4 separate regions of the Homo sapiens genome follow, and all the other regions are linked to region 1. Evidence: promoter capture Hi-C in 16 types of primary human blood cells and fetal thymus (Javierre and others, 2016). All regions are on one chromosome and are shown on one strand. Each heading gives the region's core, a stretch centred on a gene start or on the middle of the fragment in contact. The rest is flanking DNA. Distances are from core to core; before and after follow the strand shown. Region 1 holds the start of SPICE1 (spindle and centriole associated protein 1). Region 2 overlaps ATG3 (autophagy related 3). Region 3 holds the start of CCDC191 (coiled-coil domain containing 191). Region 4 overlaps GTPBP8 (GTP binding protein 8).

Region 1 (3,020 bases), core at 353-2,852:
GTGCAAGCACTTAGTAAGTGTAAAGTAGGGATGGCTAATATGGTCATTTTGCCAAGTGATTACAGCAATTTAGAGAGGGGCAGGGAGTTGAGGATGCAAGCAAGTGGATGATTGTTGATTATTAAATATATCTACATCAAACTTCCTCAATCAGAGTGAAAACTATTAAAGGCAGTACCTTTCCTCTAGAAGGTTTTGGGCATGTATTTGCAGACCACACATGGGTGTATTGTAACAGCAGAAAGCAAGGGGCTAGAGGAAATTGTCTTACCAGAGCAAATAAACTCTGTTTTTGAATCAAGTGCTTTGTAAAGTTCTTAACGTGGTCCACGCAGCTCTGACTGTCGTGGATCCAGCCTATCAGGGCGCCTCCCCTTCACAGCAAGTTCCCACTGTTCTCTAAACTTCAGACACACTGGACCTCTTCCTGTCCCTTGCATTTTCCACATCTTTGCACATGCAGCTCCCTCTGCAGGAATGCTTTCCCCTTCCCCACTGGCCTATTCATGTCTGAGCTTTCCTGAGTAATTCAAATATTACTATAATAATAAGCTAAGTATTTGGTTAGAGTGCTTCCTTCTTAGCACTCGTCATAATTTTAATGTTTTTGTCATTGATAACTGTCTGTTAATATGCTGTAAGTTTCCCACCTTGCCTGTTTTTAGCCCCATAGAACCTAGCTCTCCCGCACATTTGTAGGTTGTAATAAACAACTTTTTTTTTTTTTTTTGAGACAAGGTCTTGCTTTGTCGTCCAGGCTGGAGTGAAGTGGTATGACTGTGGCTCACTACAGCTTTGCCCTCCTTGGCTCAAGCGATCCTCGCACCTCAGCTTCCTGAGTAGCTGGAACTACAGGCGTGTTCCCACGCCCAGCTAATTTTTTAATTTTTCGTAGAGACGGGGTTTCGCCATCTTGCCCATGCTTGTCTCAAACTCCTGAGCTTAAGCAATCCTTCTGCTTCTGTCTCCAAAAGTGCTGGGATTCCACTACTAAAGATTTGTAAACAAATGAATAGAGATGAAAGCAAATTAAGTGATATGTGAAGTCTGGTGAGGAGAGCAACATCTTTCTTTTGGAGAATTCTCGAGGCACCGGCTAATGCTATATGCCTATTCTTTTTTTTTTTTTTTTTTTTTTGAGACGGAGTCTCGCTCTTTCGCCCAGGCCGGACTGCAGTGGCGCCATGTCGGCTCACTGCAACCTCCACCTCCCAGGTTCACGCCATTCTCCTGCCTCAGCCTCCCGAGTAGCTGGGACTACAGGCGCCCGCCACCTGGCCCGGGTAATTTTTTGTATTTTTAGTAGAGACGGGGTTTCACCGTGTTAGCCAGGATGGTCTCGATCTCCTGACCTCGTGATCCGCCTGCCTCGGCCTCCCAAAGTGCTGGGATTACAGGCGTCAGCCACCGCGCCCGGCCTGCTATATACCTATTCTTTAATAATTTGCCCTGAACCTTGCAGAGGAACCTCTCTCCCTTAGACTCAGGACCCGAGATAGGCTTTGGGAGGCGCCTGCGCACTGGGCTCGCCGGATATACGCAAGGGCGTGGGGCGGAGCTCTGGTAACCCAGGCAACAGCCCGGAAGCCGCTGGCTGGGTTAACCTGTGGCGCGCTCCGCGGTTCCGGCGCCTGAAGTTTTAGCTGCGGTGGCGGCGGCAGTCGGGACCGACTGCAAGGCAGGTTGAGATGATGGATCTGAGGCTTGCAGCTCGCAGTCCCAACGAGCCTTAGGGACCAGGGCTACCAAAAGGGTGGGGAGAACGGTGGTGGCATCTGTCTGTTGCCTGGGATCCAGGCGCCCGGTTGGGGAATCCTTACTTCAGGAAGCGCAGCCGCGGCTCTGTGTTTTGAGAGTGCAAGTACGTGTCAGGGTGCGTGTCTGGGTATGTTTGTGCGTGGCGCCAGAGCACCTCGAGTATGCGCGTGCGCACCGCTTTCGGGAGCTTTTGCACAGAGCTGGTAATTGGGGGTGCTCGATTGTAGCGTTGGGGGAGTTCACCGTGTAGCAGGAGAGAGGCAAACTATCCAGGGTGCTTTGGGACCGGGAGCGTCATTTAAATCGATGGATGTCAGAGGGGCTTCTCAGAAGGCTCCTCCTGTGAGTTTTGAGGAGTCCGTGGAAGTTAACCCAGTAGAGAAGAGAGTGAGCCTAATGAGTGTTCCAAGCAGAGGGAAAAGAATGGTTGCAACTGTGTGTGAGGCGAGAGCTTGGTTTTAGGATTTGCGGGAGATGTGAGAGAACACTGGAAAGAAAAGTCAGCCGGGCCATATGGGGGAGAGGGTCTGAATGCCAAGCTGAGTTGGATTGCTTTTGACAGTGGGGAGCCATCCGAATCTAGAGGAAGTAGGTAAAGGGTTCAGATCTATTCTCTATCCATGTATTTAGGTAGGATTGATTCAACAGTGTTTGGAAAGAGTTCTTGTTTCTCTTTGATCAGTTTTCCACACCAGTCAGAGTGGATTTACTAAGTCCAGTCATAACTATCCCTTTTAAAATTCTTCAGTGGTTTCCTATGGTCTTAGGTGTTCAGATTGCTGTGGCTCACAAGACTACAATCTGCTGTCTGCCTTTCTTCCTTTAACCTCTCACCCTCTCAGATCTTTGTTAATTGAACTGAACTTCTCAAACTCTTCGTAAATGCATTTTCCCTTGCCTGGAATATTCTTTCCCCTGCTTCTAACTTTTATTCGTATTTTAGCTCTCAGTGCAAACATTTTTGGGGGTATTACAGAGAGGAGAAGCTTTTACTTACTGCATAGAGTTAGTTAGGTACTTTCATGGCACACAGAATTTACTTCCCATGCTGCCCTTTTGTTGTAAATACTTGTTTAATTGCGGTCCTCTTAGAAACTCTTAACTCTGCAAGGGCATAGACTATTCTACTTTCTTGTTATATCTGGTGCCTCGCTTTTAGATGGTGCTTCAAAATATTAGTTACATTAATAGATGGATGATGAAGTCAGTGAGTGAAGAGTGAAAGGGAGACTAATTAGAATAATGAGAGCCTGAACAAAAAT
Region 2 (3,020 bases), core at 352-2,851, 960 kb after region 1:
GCAACAGTACAGCATTTTTAAAGTAAAAAATTGTGACACATTAGCTGTTACAGTAGTGACTGATTTTTTTTTTAAAGGTAAATTTCTACAACTGCCTTCAAGCTTTTCTTTTATAACTCTTTTGGAGTGTTTTGTTGTAACTTCATTTTTGCTTTCTGAAAAGTGAGCAAGAATAGTAAATTAATGGGAAGTTCTTGCTTAGTTTTTGTTTTTTTTTTCTAGTTGTTTTTAAGCTTTCAGTTAGAATGTACCAATCTCAGTGTGGGGGTGAAATACCTTAATATGCTAAGAATAGTGGAGAGTTTTGCTTTGCTCCCTTTCCATGACAAAGGGAAGTACTAGGTCTATACTTTTTAAAATACGTTTTTGTAAAGCTCCTTTTAAAAGAATAACTTATTGGCCAAGTAAGAAATAAACCAGCGATTATAAATGAGAATTTCAACTGTTGCTTTGCTTACATTTGTTTACTGTGAAAGTCATTTTAAGATTATTCAGTCAAACTAAGATTGGAAAATAATTTTCACATTTGAATCAAATGCTTTTACATAATTATGTTAACTTTTCAGAATATCATATCTACCTAGGTATACAGTATTTTAATAATACACCATTGTACAACTTTTTAGTTTCCGGGAGAGAGGAGCAAGAGACTGCCCAAATGAAATATAAAATGTATGATGTAGAATTATGTTTTCAGGAGTCCATCATACTTGCTCACCAAACTGAAAAGGAACTGTTGGCATGTCAGTATGTATGGTATATGTCTTTAGTAAAAAGGAAAGAATGAATGACCGTCTCCTTGATACTCCTGTGCAAACTGTTGTTTACAGAGAGAATCCTTACAGTTTCCTGCTTAGGGAGGGCAAGGAGAAAGAACAAAATCCTCAGGAAATAAGTAATAGCCTTCTCCTAGCAAGTAAAAATTAAGAAAAATCATGTTTTGTTTGGAGTATGTACATGCAGTAAACACTGAAGTTCTTACAATCATCTCTAAGGTTCTGCTTAATTGGTAGAGGCCCCAATCTCATCTGCTCCATCCCCTGACTGCTGTTGCTTAAGCTAACCTGATCTCTTTATTATTCTGTTAAGCACACTCTTGGTTTGGGGTTTTGCATGTGCTCTTCCCTCTATCTGAAACGCGCTTCGCACTTAACAGCCTTATGGCATGTTCCTTTCCTTAAGGTTTTTAAGTCATTATTCAGTGAAGTCTTTGTTCTCTTACCATTCTATTTTAAATGGCCATCTCTCCCCAGCCACCCCACAGATTCCTCTCAGCTTCATTTTTCTTTATGGTATGTTATTCATTACCATTTGGCTTTTCTTCCTCAACTGGAGTTGAAACTCCTTATGAGGGCAAGAATAAATTTGTATTTATGTTATTCACCCCCAAATATCCCCACTGCCTCAAATAGTGTCTGGCACATAGTAAACATTTGTTGAATGAATAATGTTTATAAATGAGTGTTTTCATTTTTGTAGACTCTACCAGAAAATCTTACATATAACTTAAAGTTTAGAAAAATTTAGAGAATAGTGTGTCAGTATCTTGGTGGAGATGAGAATTAGAGGAAAATGCTAAATAATTTCTAGATTTGGTTTCTAACATTATTCAGTTTAAATAAGACTGGCTGAATTGTAAGATGTCTAAACATCTTTAAGACATTTTTGCTGTGCTGTAAAATAAAGGTATTTGTTCATTTCACAGAATCACTGTAAGGCTTTATTTTTATTTAAATCTTAGAATGTTTGTACATAGAGCTTGGCCGGGCGCAGTGGCTCACGCCTGTAATCCCAGCACATTGGGAGGCCGAGGCGGGTGGATCACCTGAGGTCAGGAGTTCGAGACCAGCCTGACAAACATGGAGAAACCCTGTCTCTACTAAAAATGCAAAAATTAGCCGGGCATGGTGGCACATGCCTGTAATCCCAGCTACAGGCAGGAGGCTGAGGCAGGAGAATCGCTTGAACCCGGGAGGTGGAGGTTGCCGTGAGCCAAGATGGCGCCACTGCACTCCAGCCTGGGCAACAGGAGTGAAACTCCATCTTAAAAAAAAAAAAAAAGAATGTTTCTACATAGAGCTTTACTCTATTATAGCACTGATCTGATAGTATTATAATTATTTTCATGTCTGTTTCCTACATTAGACTTGTATATTCCTGTGGTCATTACCAGTGAGTGAAACAGATAGATAGATATAGATAGATACCAATGAGGTAGGTAGATAGGTAGATTAGATAGATTATAGATTAGATAGATAGACTAATTTTTTTTTGTATGTGCTCTATTGCCTAGAAGGGCACCAGGCAAATAATTGCCCCCAAAATATATTTAATTGATAGTGAAACATGATATAATATTGTTTTTCTTTCTGCTTTTTTTAGGAATCAAAGTTTAAGGAAACAGGTGTAATTACCCCAGAAGAGGTGAGTGCTGAAGATATACTGAAGTCTTTTTATTTTACAATAATACTAAACTAGGTGGCTTTTCTGCTTCATAAGAAAACATCTTGAACTTTAATTTTGATTTGAGTAAAATTAGGTTTTATGACTGTGATTTATGGGAATTTCTACTTCCCATAGAAGAAAAGATGTAACTTCCCCGTCAGTTTGCCACTTCTCATATTTCTCTGTAGTTCCTCTTTATTTAGAAATGAGGGTGAAAGAAGGGATCAAAATGAGTCCTATGTCACTTATCCTTGACTTGTATTGGTGTTATATTGAGCTGTGCAGTAAGCTCTGTAATGTCTGTGGTGTCTTGGTTCTGTTTACATCAAATGTGAGTTTTCATGCTTTTCATTGGAAAACTTTGCTTACTACTTAGATATTGTTTTCTCTTAAGAGTTCTATTTCGTTGTCGGTGGAGAAGTAAATACTGGGCTAAAAACCTTTTCAGGCTCCAATTTTATGAATAATTATGGTTTTATCAGACTTAGGTTGTTCTTAATAAGAGACAATTTATTTAAGCTTGAATTTTTTTTTTTCTGCCAATGAAAACACCACTTTTTGGCAATAGAACTTTA
Region 3 (3,020 bases), core at 213-2,712, 540 kb before region 1:
GCTGTACTCTAATAGGCTGGGAGCTTATTAGAAGTTCCATCTGGTACACAAGCACATTATAATCTTAGTTTCCATTTTGCTATAGTGTTCTTCTTCTTTTCCCTTTCTCCCTCCCGCCTCTAATCCATCCTCCCAGTCTCTGCAATCTTTCTCCATTCTCATACAAATATTTAAACATACTTGCATATGGGAGGGAGTGTTTTGGTCAGGGTTTGCTTTTACAAAAATGGAAACATATTATACTATAATATATGCACTTCTCTGCAATTTGCTTTTCTCTCAAGAATAAACATTAGACGTCTTTCCTGAAGAAGAGACATAAAGCTAACTTACCCTTTTGAAAAAAACTACTTCGTGGTACTGCATAGTTTGTATGAGCACAATTTATTCAACCGCCTTTCAGACAGACCAGTTACAGAGCTGGTCCTAGGATCGCTGCAACAGTCCGAGGGCATAGCTTCCCTAACTTCATTTTCACCAATTTCAAATCAACTTTAGTTTACATTTCCTGGCAGAATGCTTCACATACATTTATTTTTAATCATTACAACACTCCAGTGATTCAGGTATTATCGTCCCCATTTTGCATGAGAAAACAGGGTCTCTGAGTTATTAAACAAGTTGCCTAGGGTCATATAGCCACAAAGTAGTTGAATTCAAAACTCCTGTTCTAAATCTTTACTCTGCTTTATAAGCCCATTTATCACCCCTAAATGGGCTGTCTCTGGAAACACCTCGGCTAAGCCAATAAGCCTGGATTTATCTTTGCTCCATGGGCCATCTCCATGGCCCCAGACCTCCCTAGGCACCTGGCTCAGAGATTGAAGACGGTCCCACCCTCCCATGGGCAGTTCGGAATAAAAACTTCCTGAAAACTCTACCTTTCAGCAGAGGCTAGTCGAAAGGGGCCCTTTTATCTCAGAGGTGTCGGCGACGCTCACACGATTTATGAGAATCTGAACTTACAGAAACCAATCCACCAGGACACCCTGAAAAGGGAAGCAGAGGAGACATGGCGGGAGTACAATCACCGTTACTGCAACACAACCAGGAAGCGTCTGGACGCGACGTGACTCATCCATCTCTAGCAGCTCCCACACCAGCAGGGCAAAGGGGCACTTACCTGCCAACAAACCATTCGACTCTTTCAGTCTTCAGACCCCTCAAACTCCTCACAGTTCACTACCACGTGTTGCAAAATTCTCTGCCCCAAAATCACTGCCTCCAGTGCAGAGCCAATCAGGGAGTACTGCGTCATCACTGGGCGCCAGAAAAAAAGCAAAGCCGACATTCAAGCGAGCCTTGATGACGGCAAGAGCGAGGGACCTCTGCCGTTGCTATGGTAACTGAGCCAACGCGAGCGGCCTGCGCAGAGCCTCGTGGGAGTGGTGGTTCGACGGTGTCCTATGCCTGCTTTCCTTGCGGGCGGAGGAACTACAATTCCCAGCGTGACCCGGAGGCAGCCCGGGCAGAAGGGCGGTTGCTGCAGCTTTGGCCGAGGTTCGGGCTCGAACTTGGAAAATGCTCCTGGCGCCTCAGGGAAGGTCCTTCTCAAAGAAAAGGATGGGGCTGAATCGCTGGAAACGGTTCACAAGGAAGCCGAGTCCCAAGGTGATCCCAATCGAGAGCTTTGGAGGGCGGGGACTTTCCCAAGGCGCGGCGCAGTCAGGAAGCCAGTCGCGGCCCGTCTGTGCTTCCTGCCTCTTCATCCTGAGCTGACACGCCCCTGCCTTGACCGCCCCAAAGCCAGCATTACCCTGAGTGAAATGCTCTAGGAGCTCTGGGGTCTGGGCACATTACGGCTTTGGTGGGCAGCATCGTGGAAGAACTGTTTGTAACGCTTTTCTAAAACCGGAGGTGTCTGCTAATGCCCATCGGGGTGAAAGGAGTTTGCAAACTCCGTTCCCCCTACCTTAAATTTTAGGAAACTTCTCGCACATTTCTTTCTTTTTCTCTCTCTTTTTTTTTTTTTGCAAATCTTGGGGTAATTGATCTTTATTAACGGGAGAGAGCTTCACATTAAATACCCTGCCTATATTCCTGCCCCTTCACTTTTACGTAAAGTATCTAAATAAACTCAGGAGTGCAAATGGATATTGAATACATTAATACTTGATTCACATAGTAATTTCTAAATTCAACCAACTTTCAAAAAATAGATTCTCTCCGTATCTATCACCCATTTGGATGCATTAGCACCTGAAGATAAGAAAAAAATAATAACCCCATTTTAAACTTGAAACATATGTGACATGTGCAAAGTCACAGTTGCACCGTGTGCTTTCCACAGACTACCTTTTTAACAGTCCCCAAAAAGATGCTTAAAATCTAAATGAGAGTACTAAAATGGAGAAGCTTCTCAGCTTTCAGCTACAGAGCAGTTTCACCAGCTGTTTTCACCCTTAAGTTATACTTTCCTAAATAATATTCTGTAGATGTATGTGGCCTTTTTGAGGGCCCCAGGCGATTGTTCTTGCGATTTATTCTAAATTTACCAGCTAAATGCATTGGACATATTCCACATGACAAATATGTTGCCCTAGATACTAGAGGGCACAGACTGAAGCATCAGGGAGACTTGGAAACTGAGGCTGCTGCTATTTCAATACATCAGTTGCATAATGTATTGGATCCAAGATAGGATATAGATATGGACTTGATGATGAAAGGTAAAAATTTAGAATAATTTCTTAGGACTCCAAAAGGAAGGATTTTTGCTGCTAGTGCTCATTATTACTGCCTAGAGAAAAAAAGGTAAAAACATAGGGCTTCTTCAAGTTCAGTTGTATTTTAATTAGATCAGCTCTTTCTTTGTTGCAGTGACAAAATTATTAAGCAGTACAGCTGCGTTAGTTATCAGTAAGATGCTTTGAAGGTAAAGTGTTAGGTAAGTGAAAGAGTATTATATTTTTCCCACCTCCATGTGTCAGTATGCTAGTTTAGATATCCCCTTATTTTATTATTATTATTATTATTATTATTTTAAAGAGTATATTTGAGTAAGAAGCAATTCATGAACT
Region 4 (3,020 bases), core at 328-2,827, 520 kb after region 1:
GCATGAGCCACTGTGCCCGGCAAGATAGGCAATTTTTAAAGTTAAGTCAATTGTTTGGATCTTAGAACAAATATTATCAAAGGAAAGATTTTTATAAATGGTGATTTTAAGTTCCCAGTCAGTTTATTTGTCTACAGGAAAATGATTTTAGAATTACAGATTGGGAATGTCAAGAATACATTTCCTCCATTGTCCTCTCACAAAAGGAAGGAGATCACTCTACTTAGAAGTGATCATTTGGCTGATTTATTTGGTGAGGCGGGGCAGGAGTAAGGATGGGAGGGTTAAGTAATGGGAAGAATCATTAGCGATGGAGCCAGAGAATCATTTTATGAAGTGAGGAGCAAGAAAAGACCTAGTGAAGTCTCATGGAAGGGTTCCAACTCAATGAAAGGGGTGTGTGTGCGTTCGTGCACGCACATACACAGGGATAGTGAACATTAGGGTTGGTGGAAAGGTTTACCATGGCCAGATATGGTGAGACAAAGTGGGGGTGATTTTGAAGAAAGGGTATCTTAGATATTGGCAGAGACTGCGTCGTTGAGAAGAAAGTAGAGGGAATTAGAAAATGAAAGAAAGCTATTACAGCAGACTGGCTAGGAAAACAAGCACATAAGAATATGCCGAATGTGTGTGTGTAACTAATCACGTACTTTATACCTTAAAAAAGATTATAGGAGGAAAAAAGCAAGAAAAACCTAAAAGCCATTTACCGTACAATCAGTGTAGAACTAGATGATCACTGTTATAGGAGGAAATATAGAATGACAATAAGACACTTTATTTGGCAACTCTGCAAAATTTGGATAAAGAAAGACTTTCTGAAGATATTGTCTAGACTACTAAAATAAATCCAGCTACACTTCCTTTTCTTCAGAGGAATACACAGGCATTAGGATGTCTTACTTTATTACTTTTTTGAAAGAAATCACTTCTCTAGGAACTTAGTAATTATGATTTCTTATACCTTCCAGCATTTATTATTCATGTTAGTTAATCCAAGAGATAGTCCAAACATATTTAAAAACTTCAACATACTGGTTTTTTGGAGACTCTGACTTCAACCTCAGGGGCCAGTGAAAATAAAGCCTTGATTAGAGATGATTTTCCAACATTGCTTCTGCCTATAAAACACACCTTATACAAGAAAAAACAAGATAAGTACGTACTAGCTGTATATGCTATTCTGCATTAGATGTAAAAAACTTCAAATTCTAACACAGCTAATATTTATTGAATGAATTAAATGTGCCAGGTACTATTTTAAGCATTCAGCATATATTTTCTTATTCATTTTTTACAGCATCTAGGAGGTAGGTGATATTATCCCCATTTTACGGATGAGAGAACACAACTAACCCAAAATTATACAGCTAGAAAGTGAAGGAGTTGGGATTTGAACTCAGGACATGTATATCTAGAATCTGTGCTTTTAGTTTCACTACGCTACTCAAGAATATATGCAACTTTTATTAAGCATTTCATATTTACAAAGCTTTTTAGAGTAAAAACTAGATGTAGTTCAACAGAACTAGATGAAAAGTACAACTACATGTTTGGAAGCACATTTTCTCAAGCACTCCCATGGTATACTGTAACACCACTGCAATTTAAAAACTTACTCTTTTCCCTTGACCTCTCTTGTTCCAATTAAGCTTGTCTCCTCTGTAGTGTGGAAAACAACAGAATATTCTCGATAATAACCATTAATACACATGGCTCTGCTTTTGAACATGGTATTGGGGGAGGGGGTACAATGCCAATCAGTTGTTCTAAATGACGGCCGTACTGCCCCTTGAGGGACATTTTGGAGATTTTAAGGGCATTTTTGGTTATCAAGACAATTGGGGGACATTTAGTGGGCAGGGGCCAGGGATCCTATCCTGGAAAATTCTGGTCAGTTCTTCAAAATTAATTGATCTGAGTCCTGCAAAAATTTTAAATGCTCTGCCAGAGCAAATCTAATGCTAATATGTAGATAAAACTGAATTTTAAAAACGAATTACAAAAAAGTCCAGTAATTTAGAAGCTTAAATAAAAAAGCAATGGCTGTCTCAAAATCATTAAATAATTGAGGTACTCTTTGAATCCTGACTATAGTTCCACATATATTTAGACGAAATATCTCTGGGCAATGGTGCACTTAGTGTAAATACATATGGAGAGTTGAGATGCCTTTTAGCAGACTTAGAACAGAATATCAATAAATTGTAGGACATGCAAGAATGCTCACTCATGAAATTTCACTAATAAACGTTGTTATAAAAATTTTTCCACATTATTGCCATCTAGAGATTATTATTTTTGCACGATAGGAAATTTAGATTAGGCGAAAGTTACTTATTGATAAGGACCATCTCATTTGTGAAACTATTATTCGTTTCCTATTCTTCACTGTCTAAATTCTGTCTAATTTGTCTGGCATGTTTTCCCTACTTAAGTTAAATAGAAGAAAAAAGGAGAGTTAATTTTTTGAATGCTTAATTTGGGTTTGAAAAGCTTTTAAAGCATTTTGAAGTCTTCTATATTCATTCCAAAATAATTTAAGCTGTATACAGGCAGTCTCTGCTTACAGTGGGTCGACTTAACGATTTTTGACTTTACCATGGGTTTATGGGTATTGACTGCATTTTGTACTTAACAATGGGTTTCTCGGGTATCCCCACGTACAGGGAGCATCGACATATGCCTATTGAGTTAAAATAATATATGCGCCAACATAAAGCTAGAAAATACAACCGCAAAATCACCCGCGAGCCGGACGGCCAGGGAAGCGGTTAGCGCTGTGACGCCGGCGCGCAGGTGAACCGTGAGAATCGCCTCTCACCTCTGGCCGCGGAAGGTCCGGGGCGTGGTCGATACGGACGGCGGAGCTGACGTAGTCGATGCGGTTCCGTTCAGTGGCCGTGAAGATGTTGTCCGCCCTGGCTATGTCCTCCGGGCTTGGGTCAAAGATACGCAGGTGAAGGTCTTGCCTCCCGTAGGGGGCGAGGAACCGCTCTACTTCCTGCAGCGGGTAC

What was found. The method cuts DNA at HindIII sites, captures the fragments that hold promoters and counts their contacts. A CHiCAGO score of 5 or more calls a contact.
Region 2: a fragment that was not itself captured here is called in contact with the fragment with the promoter of SPICE1 in region 1 in 1 of 17 cell types (fetal thymus); the score reaches 6.1 in fetal thymus.
Region 3: a contact is called between the fragment with the promoter of CCDC191 here and the fragment with the promoter of SPICE1 in region 1, in 1 of 17 cell types (non-activated CD4 T cells). The highest score is 5.3, in non-activated CD4 T cells.
Region 4: a fragment that was not itself captured here is called in contact with the fragment with the promoter of SPICE1 in region 1 in 1 of 17 cell types (fetal thymus); the score reaches 5.8 in fetal thymus.

The regions. Positions count from the first base shown.
Region 1 is chr3:113,513,738-113,516,757 of GRCh38, reverse strand. It overlaps SPICE1 (spindle and centriole associated protein 1), which reads left to right and starts at 1,602. Exons shown (of 18, transcript NM_144718.4): 1 at 1,602-1,861. It overlaps SPICE1-CFAP44 (SPICE1-CFAP44 readthrough (NMD candidate)), which reads left to right and starts at 1,602. Exons shown (of 52, transcript NR_183050.1): 1 at 1,602-1,861. RefSeq lists enhancers at 260-309, 370-419, 930-979, 1,686-1,735, 1,796-1,915. The HindIII fragment of the contact is 3,693 bases long and covers 1-2,746 here.
Region 2 is chr3:112,557,780-112,560,799 of GRCh38, reverse strand. It overlaps ATG3 (autophagy related 3), which reads left to right. Exons shown (of 12, transcript NM_022488.5): 2 at 2,383-2,424. Among named protein-coding and RNA genes, the nearest start is that of ATG3, 2.7 kb to the left of the region's middle. RefSeq lists an enhancer at 1-76. The HindIII fragment of the contact is 2,731 bases long and covers 236-2,966 here.
Region 3 is chr3:114,054,968-114,057,987 of GRCh38, reverse strand. It overlaps CCDC191 (coiled-coil domain containing 191), which reads left to right and starts at 1,462. Exons shown (of 17, transcript NM_020817.2): 1 at 1,462-1,611. The coding sequence starts at 1,522. It overlaps QTRT2 (queuine tRNA-ribosyltransferase accessory subunit 2), which reads right to left and starts at 1,251. Exons shown (of 10, transcript NM_024638.4): 1 at 1,124-1,251; 2 at 882-989. RefSeq lists an enhancer at 1,311-1,720. The HindIII fragment of the contact is 7,070 bases long and covers 1-2,357 here.
Region 4 is chr3:112,991,143-112,994,162 of GRCh38, reverse strand. GTPBP8 (GTP binding protein 8) reads right to left here. Exons shown (of 6, transcript NM_014170.4): 1 at 2,828-3,020; 2 at 1,039-1,137. Among named protein-coding and RNA genes, the nearest start is that of GTPBP8, 1.7 kb to the right of the region's middle. RefSeq lists enhancers at 2,922-3,020, 3,010-3,020. The HindIII fragment of the contact is 160 bases long and covers 1,498-1,657 here.